Regions from separate parts of the Homo sapiens genome. Here region 1 is linked to region 2. The links are contacts of gene promoters, found by promoter capture Hi-C in blood cells and fetal thymus (Javierre and others, 2016). All regions are on one chromosome and are shown on one strand. The core of a region is centred on a gene start or on the middle of the fragment in contact, and the rest is flanking DNA. Distances in the headings are between cores, read along the strand shown.

Region 1 (7,270 bases), core at 4,149-6,648, 610 kb after region 2:
GCCGAGGCCAGAGGATTACTTGAGGCCAGGAGTTCCAGACCAGCCTAGGTAACACAGCGAGATCCCCGTCTCTAACAAAAAATACAAAAATTAGCCGGACATGGTGTCACACTCCTGTAGTCCCAGCTACCTGGAAGGCTGAGGCGGGAGGATCGTTTGAGCCCAGGAGTTCGAGGCTGCAGTGAGCTATGATCCGGCCACTGCACTCCAGCGTGGGTGACAGAGCAAGACCCTGTCTCAATCAATCAATCAATCAAATAAGGAAGCACTTTAAAGTGGGATTATTTGATGTATTTTAAAAGGGAAATGAGGTGAAGTAAATTTCTAAATTATTTCCAATCGAGATAAGTTAGTGTGGTGTCTCCTGAAGGTATTAAAGGTAACTTTTGTTGACATTTACTTACTGCCACAACAAGGCAAACAATGAAAGATGAAGTATTTAGGTAGCTTCCAGACCTCGTGCTTTCCGGGGCTGATCAAAGTAGTAGAAAACTAGTACTTTCTAACGGACCAGGACTGGTAACATAACCCTGTCCTGATTTAAACCCTAACACAGCGGCTTCTTAGCTGTATGACCTTGGGCCAGTTAATTAACCTATCTCTACCTCCTTTTCTCATTTTAACTAGATATAACCTAATTGATTTGAGCAGTAAGTAGATGAATCTTTGTAACATACTGAGAACAATACCATTACATACTAAGCACTCAGTAAACATATACTTTTATGATTCACCATTATCAAGTACTATCGTCACCACGTGTGGATTTCCTTAGTTCTCCTGAGATAACTTATTCAGCTTATTTGGATGGGGACCCCCTGCAGCAGGACCAAGAAACAGCAGGCCCTCCAAGCTCTCGTGTTGCCAGCCCCAAGACACCAAAATGTCCTCCGAGAAATCTCATGAAGAGTGTCGTCCCCAAGACAGAGACTGAGACAGGTGAAAGGTGAGATGGCTTAGCAGTTTGTAATGCTAAGCAGGGCATAGTGGCATCGTCTTCCCTGATTCTCCCATCCTGGCACTTCGGTGACTTCTACTTTAAAAGGGTTTATTCCAAGTATTTGATATATTTACCTTCACCTTTTCTCCTATTTTTCTGCACTTTTGCAAGGTTTGAGCAGGCAAAGTGCAAACTCGATTTATTTTAAAACCTTGGGAGCAAAACAAATAGGTTTTTTCTTAAGTCAGTACAAAGTAAGGGTATATGTAATTTGTCTAGCCCATGATAGGATCATAAATATTGCATTTTCCTTTCTAATATCTTTTTCCCCTATTATGGAAGAGTGAATTGGGGATGCAGATCAGTTCTCCCAGTGCAACTGTGTCCTTCCAATTGACAATGATCATTGTTGCCTAGTGTAATATACCACCTGGATTCCATGTAGAACATTAGTTAGGATTCATTTTATCAGAGCAATCTTCTCTTTTTTCCAGGAGTTTTTCCTTTTTTCTGTCTCTAAGATTATCCATTCCTAGGACTTTCCTGCTTTTTGAGCTTGGAAAGCTTCTCTGAATTTTCCTGCCACCCTGCTTTTGAATGTCCTGTGGTCTGGCTCCTGCCCTCCTGAGTCATCCTCCTCCAGTGAAACCCACACAGTTTGCTCTTCTGAAAGTCAAACTGCTTCACCAAGCAGAAGACTGGAGCAAAGCCCCTATCATGTGACCTTGTACTGAGGGACCAGAGATTATCTTCTATTACAGGCACGATTCTCATGTCCCCATTATGACAGAGGTACCTGGTCTTTCTGAGAACCTCTTTGGATTGCTTTGGAGATATGAAGATTAGGTTTGGAGATGCCATGAAGATTCCCTTTCAACATGGGCCTTCTCACCTCTTCCACCGGTATAGGTTTCTGTTTACTTCCCTGATGAGCAGCTCTAAGTTATTTATTGGTAGGTTTTACTTTATCAGTGGTTCTTGTGATAAGTAAGTACCGCTCTCTTTGACTGTGAAGCACTTCTGCATATTGATGTGAGAAACCTGTAGTGTAGTCAGGTGCGCATGGTGGCCCATTCTTATAATCACAGTGGCTTTGGGAGTCCAAGGTGGGAGAATGGCTTGAGACCAAGAGTTCAAGACCAGTTTTGAGACTCCATCTCAAGAAGTAAAGGTGGGGGGGGGAGAGAGAGAGAGAGACAAGAGAGAGAGGAAGAAGAAGTAGTAGAGTAAGAACAAGAAAACAAAAGAAAGAAGGAAAGAAAAAAGAAAGAAGAAAGAAAGAAAAAAGAAAGAAAGAAAAAAGAAAGAAAATCCATTGTCTTTTTTCAAGCCTCTACTTTTTTCAAGCCTCTACTGCAGGGCAACACACTGTTGCCTCCACTTCATCTGTTGCATTCCTTGGTCCCAGACTTCTTAGGCTTTCAAAGATGTGTTCAAAGACTTTGTAATAACCTATGAAACCTTGTGAAAATATTTCCTCCTGAATTCTTCCTGCTGGTTTATTTTCCATTTATCTCACAGAAATACCAGCCAAGGAATGATGACTAGTTCTTTAGGGCCTTGGGCTCCTCTGGATTATCTGGAAAGAGGAGTCTTCCACACCCCTCCCACTGCCAAAGTGGTAGTAGCTCCTCCAAATCACCCAGGAGGAAAACACAGACTTGCCGCCACAATGTGGAGCAGGGCACTCCTAGCTTTCCCAACATCTCCCCTGCCTTGGAGGGAGTTTCCTCTCGTATGGGAAATGGGAGTGACAGGTCCTGTAGAGTGGGGATCTGGACACCAAGAAGGCGCGCTGTCATTTTCTGTCAAATAAAAATGCACTTTTCAGCCGATGGGGGCTAGATGAAGAGGCCCAGGTCCATCCTGGATTTTTGAGCCACGATCACCGGAAGGGAGGAGGCTCATACCTCTGGCACGTCAACAGTGACAGCTACCCTACCCCTGGAGGTGGTGAGAGGAACAGAGCTCAAGGGAGCCTCAGCCGGTCCACCAGAAGGTTCAGTCCCCCGTCACTCCCATAGCCATTTTGAAATATCTTCCCAAAGAAGACAATGGGAAATATCTAGAGAGATGCTGGGCCCGCAGAGGAGGCAAGCACTACCTCTTTTGGAGGGAAGCATATCTGCAGATTTGGCTGCCCAGGCCCTGCCAGGAGTTTTCCAGGACCTCAGACTGCCACAGCACAGTAGGCATTCACTAAACTGTTGTGGACCACATGGTTTCATCACTTTCCTTTTTCCTTGCCTTTCCTTCAGCCAACACTCCTTCCTTCTCTCCCTTCTCTGCAAGGAGCTACAGCTCCGTAGAGCCTGCCCAGACCACTCCTGCTGAAATATCAACTGCACCCCAGCCTTTCTTACCCGCCCACTCACTACCCCACCCTTGGTCTTTCAAGCTTCTCCAGAGCTGAACCTCAGTCTTACAACCAATCTCCTGGCAGGGTGCATTTCTATATTATTTTTTTGCTATTTTCTAGACCATCAGCTCTGCCAGGGCAAAGACTTTGGTCTGTTTCGTTGCTGTGGTGCCAGCACTCTGAATGGCACGTAGTAGAAGCTCAATAAGTATATGTGGAGTAAGTGAAAGGCCACGTGCGCCAGAGTGCAATCGACTCCAGGCGAAACTGGAAGACTAGCCCGGCCGACGATTCAGTGGGGGAAGAGAGGAACAATAAAACAATCTGGTGATCCGCAAGGTTCGCAGGTGTCTCAGGTCCAGAGACGACCCGTGAGCAAAGGAGCCTGAGAACTTTCAGAGGGAGAATGAATGATTGAATGTGAGAATGCGGGACATCGGAGTGTGCCCAGCTCCAGCATTAAGGAAACAGCAGGGAAGAGGGAGGTGCTCCAGGCGCTGCTAAACCCTGGCGGGTGGTGCTAGTGGGCCACTCCCACACGCACTCTCGTCTCCGCTAGTGCAGCCCAGCAGCACAATGGGGCAGGTTCCTTCGCCCGCCACCGGGTGCCCAAGGCTGCGTGCTGGGGCTCAGTAGCTCCCGGCAGAGCGCTCGAAGGAAAGGCTCAGTGTGAGGTGCGACTTTCTGCTTCCCGCGGAGGCTCCGAAAGGCCCTCGAGCCAAGGGCGCCCGAGGACGTGAGGGTGGGCAGGCCAGTCCTTTAGGGTGGGAACCAGCTGAGGGCCAGACCTCCGACGCCAAGCTTGATCCAGCTTTTATAATTTTTTTTTATCCAGTAGAATCTCTTGAAGGGACGATGGTCCAGGCTCAAAGCGCAGAAAGGTTAGGACCTACTAGTATAGGGTGGGACTAGGGAGCAAGGTCAGGCCAAGAGGTCAAACCCTGCTTTGCTGAGAGAGGTGGTCGCACAGGACACCCCGCCCCAAGGCGTTTTCCCTTGAAAGCCCAGGGTAACCTGCCTTCAGCGGACAAGACTGCTGCGGGGCTACCCGGAAATACCCTGAGTTTGCACCCACCCCCTCTAACCGCAATCTCCAGTCAACTTTCCCACTTGCGACCCGGAGGCTGCGAACTTTCCTGGTTCTCTATGGCAATAACTGGAGGATCCCTCTCTCTCCCCAAAACTCACTCCTGAGCAGTGTGCTGGTCCTATGGCAACCTGGTCACCTGGGAGGAGTTGGTCGCCCTGACAACTTCTAAGGTCTTCCCCGCCCCATCCCCCAGAGCAGTTTTTCGGGGCGTCCTGGGGCAACAGGAGGTTTTCTGCCTCCCTCTGTCATTTCGCCCCAGGCTCCTTTTTAGAGGGTCCTAGGGAAGAGGAGGACTGAGAACCGCGTGGTCCCCACTGAGCCTAAGGGTGAGGGGACGGAGGAAATGGGCCATAAAGTGTCCACGCGAGTCCCTGTGCGAGTTTCTGCGTACGAGCGCGTGCCCAAATAGTGAGTGGGGGTTATTTTCCGGCCTGTCAGGGGATCTAGAGCGGTCCTGCTAGCGCGCAGCCAGCCGGTGTTTCCGGAAAGGCCTCCCTGCGCGCCGGCTGAGCAGCCAGTGCCAGGCGAGCCCAGAAAGGTGGAAGTCACGGTGGAAACGCCGGCCACGCGGCTCCTTCTCCAAACGCGCTCTGGGAAGGGATTAGGCGCCCCCTGCACTTTCGCTTTGGGCGTGATTGATGCGAACGGCGCGCTAAGGGCTGCGTAATTAATAAAGATTACGCCGGTTTTGTCGAAACGTTCCTCTTAATTAATGAAGAAGCGGGGCGCCAAGGGTGTTTGATTTGCATTTGGAAAATTCCCTCGGCGGCTCGGGCTCAGTGGTGAAGCGGCCGCTGGGATCCGGGACTAACGGGCAACCGCCAGGCCGAGGCGTTCTTGTTCCGGATCAAGTGTACCCGATCCTGTTCCCCTCGCCCCGAGATCTACCGGGCCGCACTCCCTGGGGCTCAGGGCCCGACTCAAGTCTGTCTCCATCCAGCCCTCCTCGAGTGGGCCTCCTTGCCTTCTGCGGACATTGGCGGGCACCCCCGCCCCCCAGCCCCGCACACTTCCCGCAGAACCTCTTGATCCTTCCCCGTCCTTACCCCATCTAGAGGGTACCTCCAGGAGCCCAGATCACCGATCCTTGTGCTCGGCCAGGGCTTTCGTCGCTGCCCTCTGGGAGGGGGCCGAGGGATGGAAAGAAGAATTTATTCCCTGTCTCTAAGGCCAAAGGGCGCTCAGGGAACGCTGAGAACCCTCCCCGCCCTGCGTGATTGTGTGTGTGTGAGTGTGTGTGTGTGTGTGTGTGTGTACATGTGTGGTTGTTTGTGTCCCTGTGTGGGTCGTATACGTGTGTTTCGGGGAGTGGTGCGTTTTGTTAAAATATTACATTTTCTCGGGCCTTACTGTCCACCTGCTGCAGCCCAGGAAAAAAGAACCTCCTTTCCCCAGCGTTGCCGCAGTGAAACACTTTCGCTTTAACCATAGACTCCTCCACCCTGGTCCCGGGTTGGAGGGGGAAGCAAATGCTCCCTGCCCAGCAGCAGCTGGGGGCGGGGAGGTGGGAGAGACCCACTGGCCGCGTGGAGGGCCCGAGAGCCGAAAAGCGGCTTCAAAGGTTTTGGTAACGACTCTTCGACCTTTATTTATGCCCCTATTAATACAATATCCATCATGTAGATATCGATCTTTATCCTTTAAACTGATACGCTGAGAATCAATTAGCCATGCAGATTACATTTCCTACATATCCAAATGTTAGTCTCTTAGGCTGAGAGCCGGTGATAATATATTTTTGCAGCCAGATAGTATTAGATTTCGTTTAGAAAAAAAAGAAGACGAAGAAGAACAGGAAGAAAGGCTCTCTGAGGCTCCTTCCTCTTGGGGCTACTTGTCTTAACCCGGCTGAGGCTGGGGTGCCCCTCATAGAGTTTTCCGGGGCGAAGAAGCGAGACCGCGAGGATGGTGCGCGCGCAGGGCCACCGTGGGGAGCCGGGCAGCTTTCTGCAAGAGGGCTCTTGGAGGTTGGCGGGTTAGCGAGGGGTCTGCACTTCTGCCGCATGCTCCCTCCAGCTAATCAACGGGTCTCGGTGGCCCCTTTCGATGGGTTTCTGTGTCGGAGATGGTCAGTTTTCATCTTTTTAGAATTTTTCCACCTGCTTCTCCAATCTCCAAGGTTCTGGATCAAAATTATTCTCCTGTCCCTCGCTCCCAAACGTACGACTTATTTAAAGGTTCATCTCCAGAAAAAGAAACTTTATTTAAAAGAGGAAATGGGTGTTTTCTTGGGTGACGGGAGATGAAAAAGTTTAAGTTCTAGGAAGGAACTTAATGCAAGTCATGTGTAGAAATTCAGGAAGCTTAGGCCTCCTGCTTTGGTTGTGGTGAGGAGAGTTTCTCCCCTCTTCTCTCCCCCGCGTTTTACCTCCATTCTTCCCTCCTTTTATTATTTTTTAAAATTTCTTTCCTTCTTTCTCTCTTTTCTTCTCTTTCTCTCTTTCTTCTTTTTCATCTCCTCCGCCTCTTCCCCAATTTTGAAAGAGTGAGGGGTCGGGAGAGTACGTGTCCTAGGGCGGGCAGCCCTCCCGGGGTCTGTGGACTGTGCGCTCTCAGGAGACGCCCGGGTGGAGTTGGATATCTCCGAGAGGCAGGTGCGCGCAGCACTCTTCAAAACGCCTCTCTGCAGTCCCAGGTCCGCGCTCCCCAAGAACTGGCCAGATCGCGCCGGGCTTGGCCCCTGACAACTCTGCCTCCTCCACCTGTTGCGTTTACTCCGTTTAGTTGGCTGTGCAGTCTCTGGCCCCAGGTGTGCTTTTAAAACTCGAGGAACGCGGGTGTTGGACTCATTCGCAGCCTCTTGCCTCTGGTTCCCGTGATCCCACGGTGGCGAGCTTCCAGGCTCAGCGAGGAGATCTGGGTTTGAACATTCATCTCCCAT
Region 2 (7,179 bases), core at 3,400-5,899:
ACCACAATTAGTTTAAAAATAAAGTTTCCACAAAAATAATTTTTAAAAGCAGAAATATATCTAGATACTCATATAAATTGTAAGATATTCTTTATATTGCTTTGCTTATCTTACTAATTCTGAACTAAAACCTACTCACAAAATAAACGAACAACCGTCTGAAATGGTTTTTCAAAATGTCCTAACTTTATCTTATAAAAATATACAGTACCACATTCTTTGCTCACAAAAAGACCATGCAACGTTTGGGAGTTTTTGTTTGGCTATTTGACTTTCGATATTGCACCAGGAAGTTTTCCTTGTCTGTGCTGCATTTTGCTTGCTAGGTCCATTACTGTGAAGTATACTTTAATGACTTAAAATAATGTTTCCTCCACAACTTTAAATTGTACGTCATTTTTAAGTGAACTAAGAATTTAAGTTGGATACTAAAGAAACTATAATTATAGAAAGAAACTACTGATTATTTATATTTGACTTTGAAGTAACTATGTAATTATTCTTGACGTAAGCATTTAGGTACCCGACAATAATTCCCATCATTTCCAAACAAACTCAGCCTATGTTATAAGGAGCCAGAAAATCACTGCTGCCCCATTTCCCTTGTCTTATTCCCAGGCCCCTATATTATGTAAGGATGAACAGCCCCTCTTAAGTCATTCAAAGCTGCACCAGCTTCTCTGTCACTTTGTTTGGTGTTTAGGCCAGACTTTCCCTGAGGACTCAGGAGGTAACTATACAGCTTGCTTAAAAGGAGGTGATCTCACACTTTCCCTCCTAGCTCTCAATAGGCTTCAAGTGTCAATGAATTCACCAACAGATATCATGAAAATAATTTTTATTTTAACAAGAAGGTATTTAGGCAAACAAGTTGATAATTACACACAGAAGCTGAAATTAAGTTGAGTGCTTAGTAAATAAGAAAGCAAGCTAAAACAAGACTGAAGAAATCCCATAGCGCCTAAGGCAATATTTATAATCAATAAGGAATAAATCCTACATAAACTACCTTGTCAACAATATATTTTTCACTAGCACTAATGCTTTGTAGCGGGTGATACTTCTTTAATACTCAATATTAAATAAGGGTCACTTCTTACCGGAACTGCTGCCATCAGTGTTGGTTTCAACATGGATGTATCCCCTTTGCTTCCTTTTTTAATTTTTGAAGACTACAAAATAAGAAAAAGTGATCCATATAAAGTGATCCTTATTTTTAAAATTCAATGGTATTCTTAGATCAAAAAGCCTATTATAAATTATTTTAATGTACTTACAGTCTAAGAAGCACTTAAAAGGCTAAAGCTCATTTTAAAATGAACCATCGCTCTCGCAATATACTGTCATACTGACTGAAAAAAATGCATTACAATTCACTATGATTTTTTAGTATTTCAAGTCACAGACACTGAACTTACCTGATCTGCTAAAGTCTGTGGTGAAGAGTAACCAATGCGGCATCCGTGAGAAAGACAGACAAGCTCAGCACTTAATTCTAGAACATGGGCCAGAGGCAAATATCCAATGTAGACATCTTCCTCTCTAAAAGAAAAGGGAGACGTCAGAAACAAAAGTCAGGTGTCGTCTATGCCAAAAGTGCCCTATAATGGGAGCAAGCTTGAAGGCACATGGAAGGGCCCCAGGGCATCAATTTGCTGGTCAAGTGTGTATGTGTTTGTGAGAGAGAGAGAGAGACAGGTGAAAACAGAGGATAGGCAGATGCTGGGGATGGGAGGGAAAAAGAATTACAGCTCAACCCAAAAGCAAGGAGGCGCACACTTGCAGGAAGGAATGCTGTTTCCCGTCCTACTTAAAAGCACTCAGGAATTATAAGCGTTGCTGAAGCAAAGTACTGAGGCACAAGAAACAGTGGCTTAAACAAATAATAATACAGGGTTCTTTTGAAGAACAGAAGAAATCATCCAAGGAGGAAATGGTCTTTACATCTAGTGGGTTGCCAACCAGAAGAGTTAAAGTAGAATCCACAACTATCTGCCAGAAATTTTACAGATAAGACTCTTGTTGTGGGAATTGGATTACATAATAAATTAGATCTTAATATACAGAAAATGTGTAAGTATTTGTATATACTTCAAGAGCTGCCCCCATAACCAAAATATAGAAGGTAACTGAGGCAAACCTGTAAGAAAATTGTTGCACTTAATTTTTTCTGAAATGTATGCATACGTAAGAGACATTCCTCCATCCCCAAGTTCAGTACCATAGCAATTACGTGAGTGTGTGTGTGCGTGTATGTTTGTAATTTCTGTGCATAAAAGCATCAAAAATATCCAACCACTGTACCCTATCGGTCATCAGAATACCAATTGCATCTCTGGCAATGTTTCCTTGACAGTCCCTCAAACTTCCATCTGGTTTCCTCCATCAGTCTCTTCCCCACTCCACTCTACCTTCCACTGCTACCACTGGAGTTTGTATTAACAAGAAAAATCAGAGACCAAATACTGAAGCTCAACAAATACTTAGTGGATAAATTAAGTTACCTGTTCACCTGAATTGTATTTAGATATAAAAAAAACTACAGCAGCAAATACAAGCTGATTAAAACAAAGGATTTACAACTATACAAATTTAAGTTCTGTACTTTTTAAAATATATCTATATGATATATTTTCAACCTCACAACTATAACTATTTTGCCATTAATTTTAATGTCCTTTTTTATTTTTTAAGGAAATGCCTACTACAAACAGACTCTGAGGGACTAATTTAGCCATATATTAATAAAATGACACAAATGCTAACATTATAACAGACATAAATACTTAACTACTCAATGTTACTTTACTATGACATACCCTAGTTCTGGAATCCTTTCTGCCATCCCAGTTATACCAGCAATAATGTTACTATGTGAGATCATGACTCCCTTTGGAAGTCCTGTGGATCCACTTGTGTACATGATTACTGCAATATCTGAGGGCAATGGTTTGCTATGAGGTTGGTTTTCTGCATTGAAGAGAAAAAACACACACATACACTTTCATGAGATTCAGCTGTATCAACAATTTCTTTTCATTATCATCAAATAAATAACTCAATCAAATTGAGTTAATTTAACTCAATTCAACAAATATTAGTTATACTGAGATCAACAAAACAGATCAAGTCCCTGCACGTATGGGAGATATATTCTATTGAGATATACAAACAGATTAACCTATGAAGAAAACTGAAGCAAGACAAGGTGAGAAGATGACAATAGATGCTATTTGGATGGAAAAGCCTGGAGACCGTCTCTGTAGAGTTTCGTTTAGCAAAGGCCTGAATAAAGTGAGGAAGGGAGCCATGGAAACCCTGGAACTGGGAGAAGAGTGTTCTAATTAGAAGGAAATAAGCAAATGCAAAGACCCAAAGGTAGGAATGTGCTCAGCATATCTAAAGACCAGCAAGGAGTGTGGCTGGAACAGAGTGAGCAAGAGGAAGAGTGGCAAGAAACAATAGTCAAGTGGCTATCAGGGACCACACATAGGACCTCAAAGGCCACGGGAAGAACTCTGGATTACGTTCTGGATGTAAAGCAATGTTGTTTTGAACAGGAGTATGTTATTATCTGTGAAAAAAAAGATCACTTTGGCTGCTGTGTGGCTAACTAACTTTACAAGGGGAAAAAAGGTATCAGGGAGACAAGATTATCCCAGTAATTCAACTAAGAAATAAAGGTAGCTTTGGACTAGAGTATCTAGGTGTTTGCTAAAAACTATTCACTGCTTCAGAATGGTGACTAACTTGGTTACACTCAGAGTCCTGCATTAAAACACGATGTGAACCATTTGAAATCAGAAGAGTACCAGCCTAAGGACAACAGCTGAGAAGCTATAGAGGTGGCACAGCAGAAGAACAAAGAGAAATAGGTCATGGTTGGCATTGCTGATATGTCTGAACCACTCCCAGAACTACTCTACATGTGAACTTCTAAATGAGTGTGAAAAAATTATTTAAATGTACTCCCAATAGAATACCCTTCCTCTCCTGTCAGTCAAGATACATTTCTTAAATAATGTTTACACTTGGAAGTCTTTACTTCCAAATCAGCCCTTCACTCCTTCAATGCACAGCACCCTTCTCCAACACCACCACTTCTTGGAAATTACAATCCTTGTGTCATCTGACCTCTGCATGCAGCCCCTGATCCTGCTGATGACTCACCAAGATCTCCTTTCCCTTGGCTTCCAGGAACCACATACTACTAGATATTTTCTTCTTTCCTCTCTGACTAGTCCTTAGTAGCCTCTGAAGCCACCATTCCCTGTTGGTGACCTCACCCCCTACTCCCACAGCTATAATTAAAACCTAACTGCTTCTAGCTTCCAAATCTCTAAGTCCAAACATAACTCGAGTACTAGACTTTTACACACCACTGTCCACAATATATCTGCATCTAAATATCCCACTACCACTCAAATTCCAGGTGCCTAAAATTTGAGTTGAGTGAATGCTTACATCTAATTACTAGGTTTCCAACTACAGAGGAAATGCAGTCCCAGCATCCCAGCAGCTTTTGCAGTATCTCTAAACACTAGTACACTAGCTAACATTTTCTGACGCTTTTTTGAGAATAGGAACTTGTAGAGTCACCATGCCTAGGTGTGCTAGTTGGAGGGTAAGGTTTTCACCTCAGGAAAGGGAAGAACTGGAACAGGGAGTAAAAGGAGGCCTCCAGGTTTAGCCACTCTGTTAACACTTACAGGTAATTCACATAGGACAAGATAAATGTCATTATTTATAAACTAACTTTAAACCACCCAAAACTATCACCATAAAAAAGAAATGAAAACTGAATGTAAAATATTTTAAATTTCAAATAAATACTACCTTTAAAACATTAATAATTAATGTTTATATTTTTCCTTAAAACTTTCTTTAAAGACAAGATGAAAGTATACCTAGAGGGACCTGTTTTCCTAACTGATGTTAGAAAACTGATGTGTCATTTGAGCTAACCTCAGAATCAAAACTTTGGCATAATTCTGGAGAATGTGGTCACCAGAAAGCACAGGTAAGGAATTAGAAAAGTGTAACATACCCATGCTGGCCTTGGCTCCCAGGGCCTCCACTGCAGCCATGGTATGCACAATGATGCCCTTGGGGAACTCGGACCAGGTCGGTGGCTTTCCATCAACAGTGATGATGTGCCGCAGGCGTGGGACCAAAGAAACTATATCCTAGAAATACACCAACATTCATCACGTTCATTATTTTTCAAGCAGCTTAGCGAATAAGAATACTAGTTTACCATATTCGGTGAATCATTAAGTAATTTCTTGCCTCAAAAAAGAAAGAAGAAAGGGTACACTGGCATAATATCACTTTTTACAGATGATTAAGTATTGGTCTGAATTTAAATTATTATTTTATAGCATTAGATTCACTGTGTGTACCCTTGGCCTTTGGTAAAACCCTGATCAAGAAGGGTACTGCCTTATAAAACGGGCATGTAAACACAGGTTGCCTAAACTGTAGAGAAACCAGAAGCCCCTCATATTTTCAAGAGACTACATAAAAATATATGGGGGAAGGAGGAGAAAATTCACATGCAAACTTGTTCAAAATTTTCTTTTTGAACAAGTTTACATGTGAATTTTCTCCTCCTTCCCCCATATAGAATAGCCCAGATATTTCTGGGAGTTGTCTAGAGACCAAAGAAACTCTTTTTACTGTAATATAATTAAAAGTCTCCCTTTTTAACTTCCAAACAATTCTGAAAACTTGTAATTACTTAATGCTTCAGAAGTAAAATAAAAATTACTAGTTTAAAATATAACCCTTCAAAATTACAAATTTACTAAAAGTAAACTAGAAAATAGATGAGCACAATAAGAGAAAAAGTAGTCGTAATTTCTTCAATTTAAACATAGGCATCTTAACAATTTATAACTCTGGATTACTTATACATGAATATATACAAAATCTACTTTTTATTTTCTAAAGGAAAAAATAAAGTATGATATTCATAAAAGTCCACAAAGATTAAGGACTTAAAAGTCATAAAAGAACTAAGTATCAATAATAGGGCTCATGACACTGAAAATTCTAAAGTATCAGACAGTTAGAAAGTAACTAGAGTCCTCACCTTCAACTTTGTTTGTAAGAGTTCTTTACTAGTAATGATGTTGGTCACCTCTGTTTCATTTAATGCATGAACAATGGCTGGACCTCCTAGAGTGGCATATAATGTAACAACTAAAAGGAAAAGCAGCAGCCAGTCAAATATTCAAACATTTAACTACAAATGTAAAGTCTCTGAATGTGGAGATGAATCATAATAACGCATTAGGAGCCCTAAACTGTTAAATCCACAGTCTATAAGTGTTATGTTTTTTAAAGTTATCTTATCATACTAATCAACATTACACCTACTCATCCTCCCCTAAATGCCCCAAGATTTCCAATTTTTAAAGATGAAGATATTTAAATTTTTATTTTGTTTCACTTACAGATGTTACTCTGGGACTACCACATTGTGAAGGAATTATAACTGATTTCTAAGACTTCAAATTCTTAATTGTTGGCCACTTGGCTTTACAATGTGAAAAAGAACATATACAAATAGGATGACACACTGAATGTCAGATTTACGGTGTATGTCAAGAAAAGAGCACAAACAAGTGGCAGTACCGTTTATTCTCAAGCAAAAATATCTAAAGACAAACATTCTCTGAAATGCTGAAATTACATAACATGAATAGTGTAGATTTTTATTTACTTTCTGCCTAACTCAAAAAAGATACACAAAATGACTTTGAAAATAATTCTTTTAAAGCTCCTCAAAAGAAACAATGTAAATCCAAACCTGTGACAACAAAAATGGAATGTTTGTTTAAAAGAAAAGGTGTAGGAGGCCTAGCACGGTGGCTCACGTTTATATTCCCAGCACTCTGGGAGGCCGAGGTGGGCGGATCACAAGGTCAGGAGATCAAGACCATCCTGGCCAACAGGGTGAAACCCCATCTCTACTAAAAATACAAAAAATTAGCCGGGCATGGCGGCATGCGCCTGCAGTCCCAGCTACTCGAGAGGCTAAGGCAGGAGAATTGCTTGAACCCGGGAGGCAGAGGCTGCAGTAACCTGAGACTGTGCCACTGCACTCCAGCCTGGCGACAGAGTGAGACTCCATCTCAAAAAAAAGAAAAAGAAAAGGTGGAGGAATTTACAGCA

The links. The method cuts DNA at HindIII sites, captures the fragments that hold promoters and counts their contacts. A CHiCAGO score of 5 or more calls a contact.
Region 1: a fragment that was not itself captured here is called in contact with the fragment with the promoter of ACSL3-AS1 in region 2 in 1 of 17 cell types (M1 macrophages); the score reaches 5.6 in M1 macrophages.

Annotation. Positions count from the first base shown.
Region 1 is chr2:222,303,903-222,311,172 of GRCh38, reverse strand. It overlaps CCDC140 (CCDC140 long non-coding RNA), which reads right to left. Exons shown (of 2, transcript NR_161172.1): 2 at 5,956-7,270. Among named protein-coding and RNA genes, the nearest start is that of PAX3, 8.5 kb to the right of the region's middle. RefSeq lists enhancers at 3,403-3,937, 3,938-4,473. The HindIII fragment of the contact is 2,592 bases long and covers 4,103-6,694 here.
Region 2 is chr2:222,917,071-222,924,249 of GRCh38, reverse strand. ACSL3-AS1 (ACSL3 antisense RNA 1) reads left to right here and starts at 4,649. Exons shown (of 3, transcript XR_923949.3): 1 at 4,649-4,711; 2 at 4,891-5,020; 3 at 6,461-7,179. It overlaps ACSL3 (acyl-CoA synthetase long chain family member 3), which reads right to left. Exons shown (of 17, transcript NM_004457.5): 6 at 6,095-6,204; 7 at 5,048-5,186; 8 at 2,820-2,970; 9 at 1,419-1,542; 10 at 1,101-1,172. The HindIII fragment of the contact is 9,982 bases long and covers 1,620-7,179 here.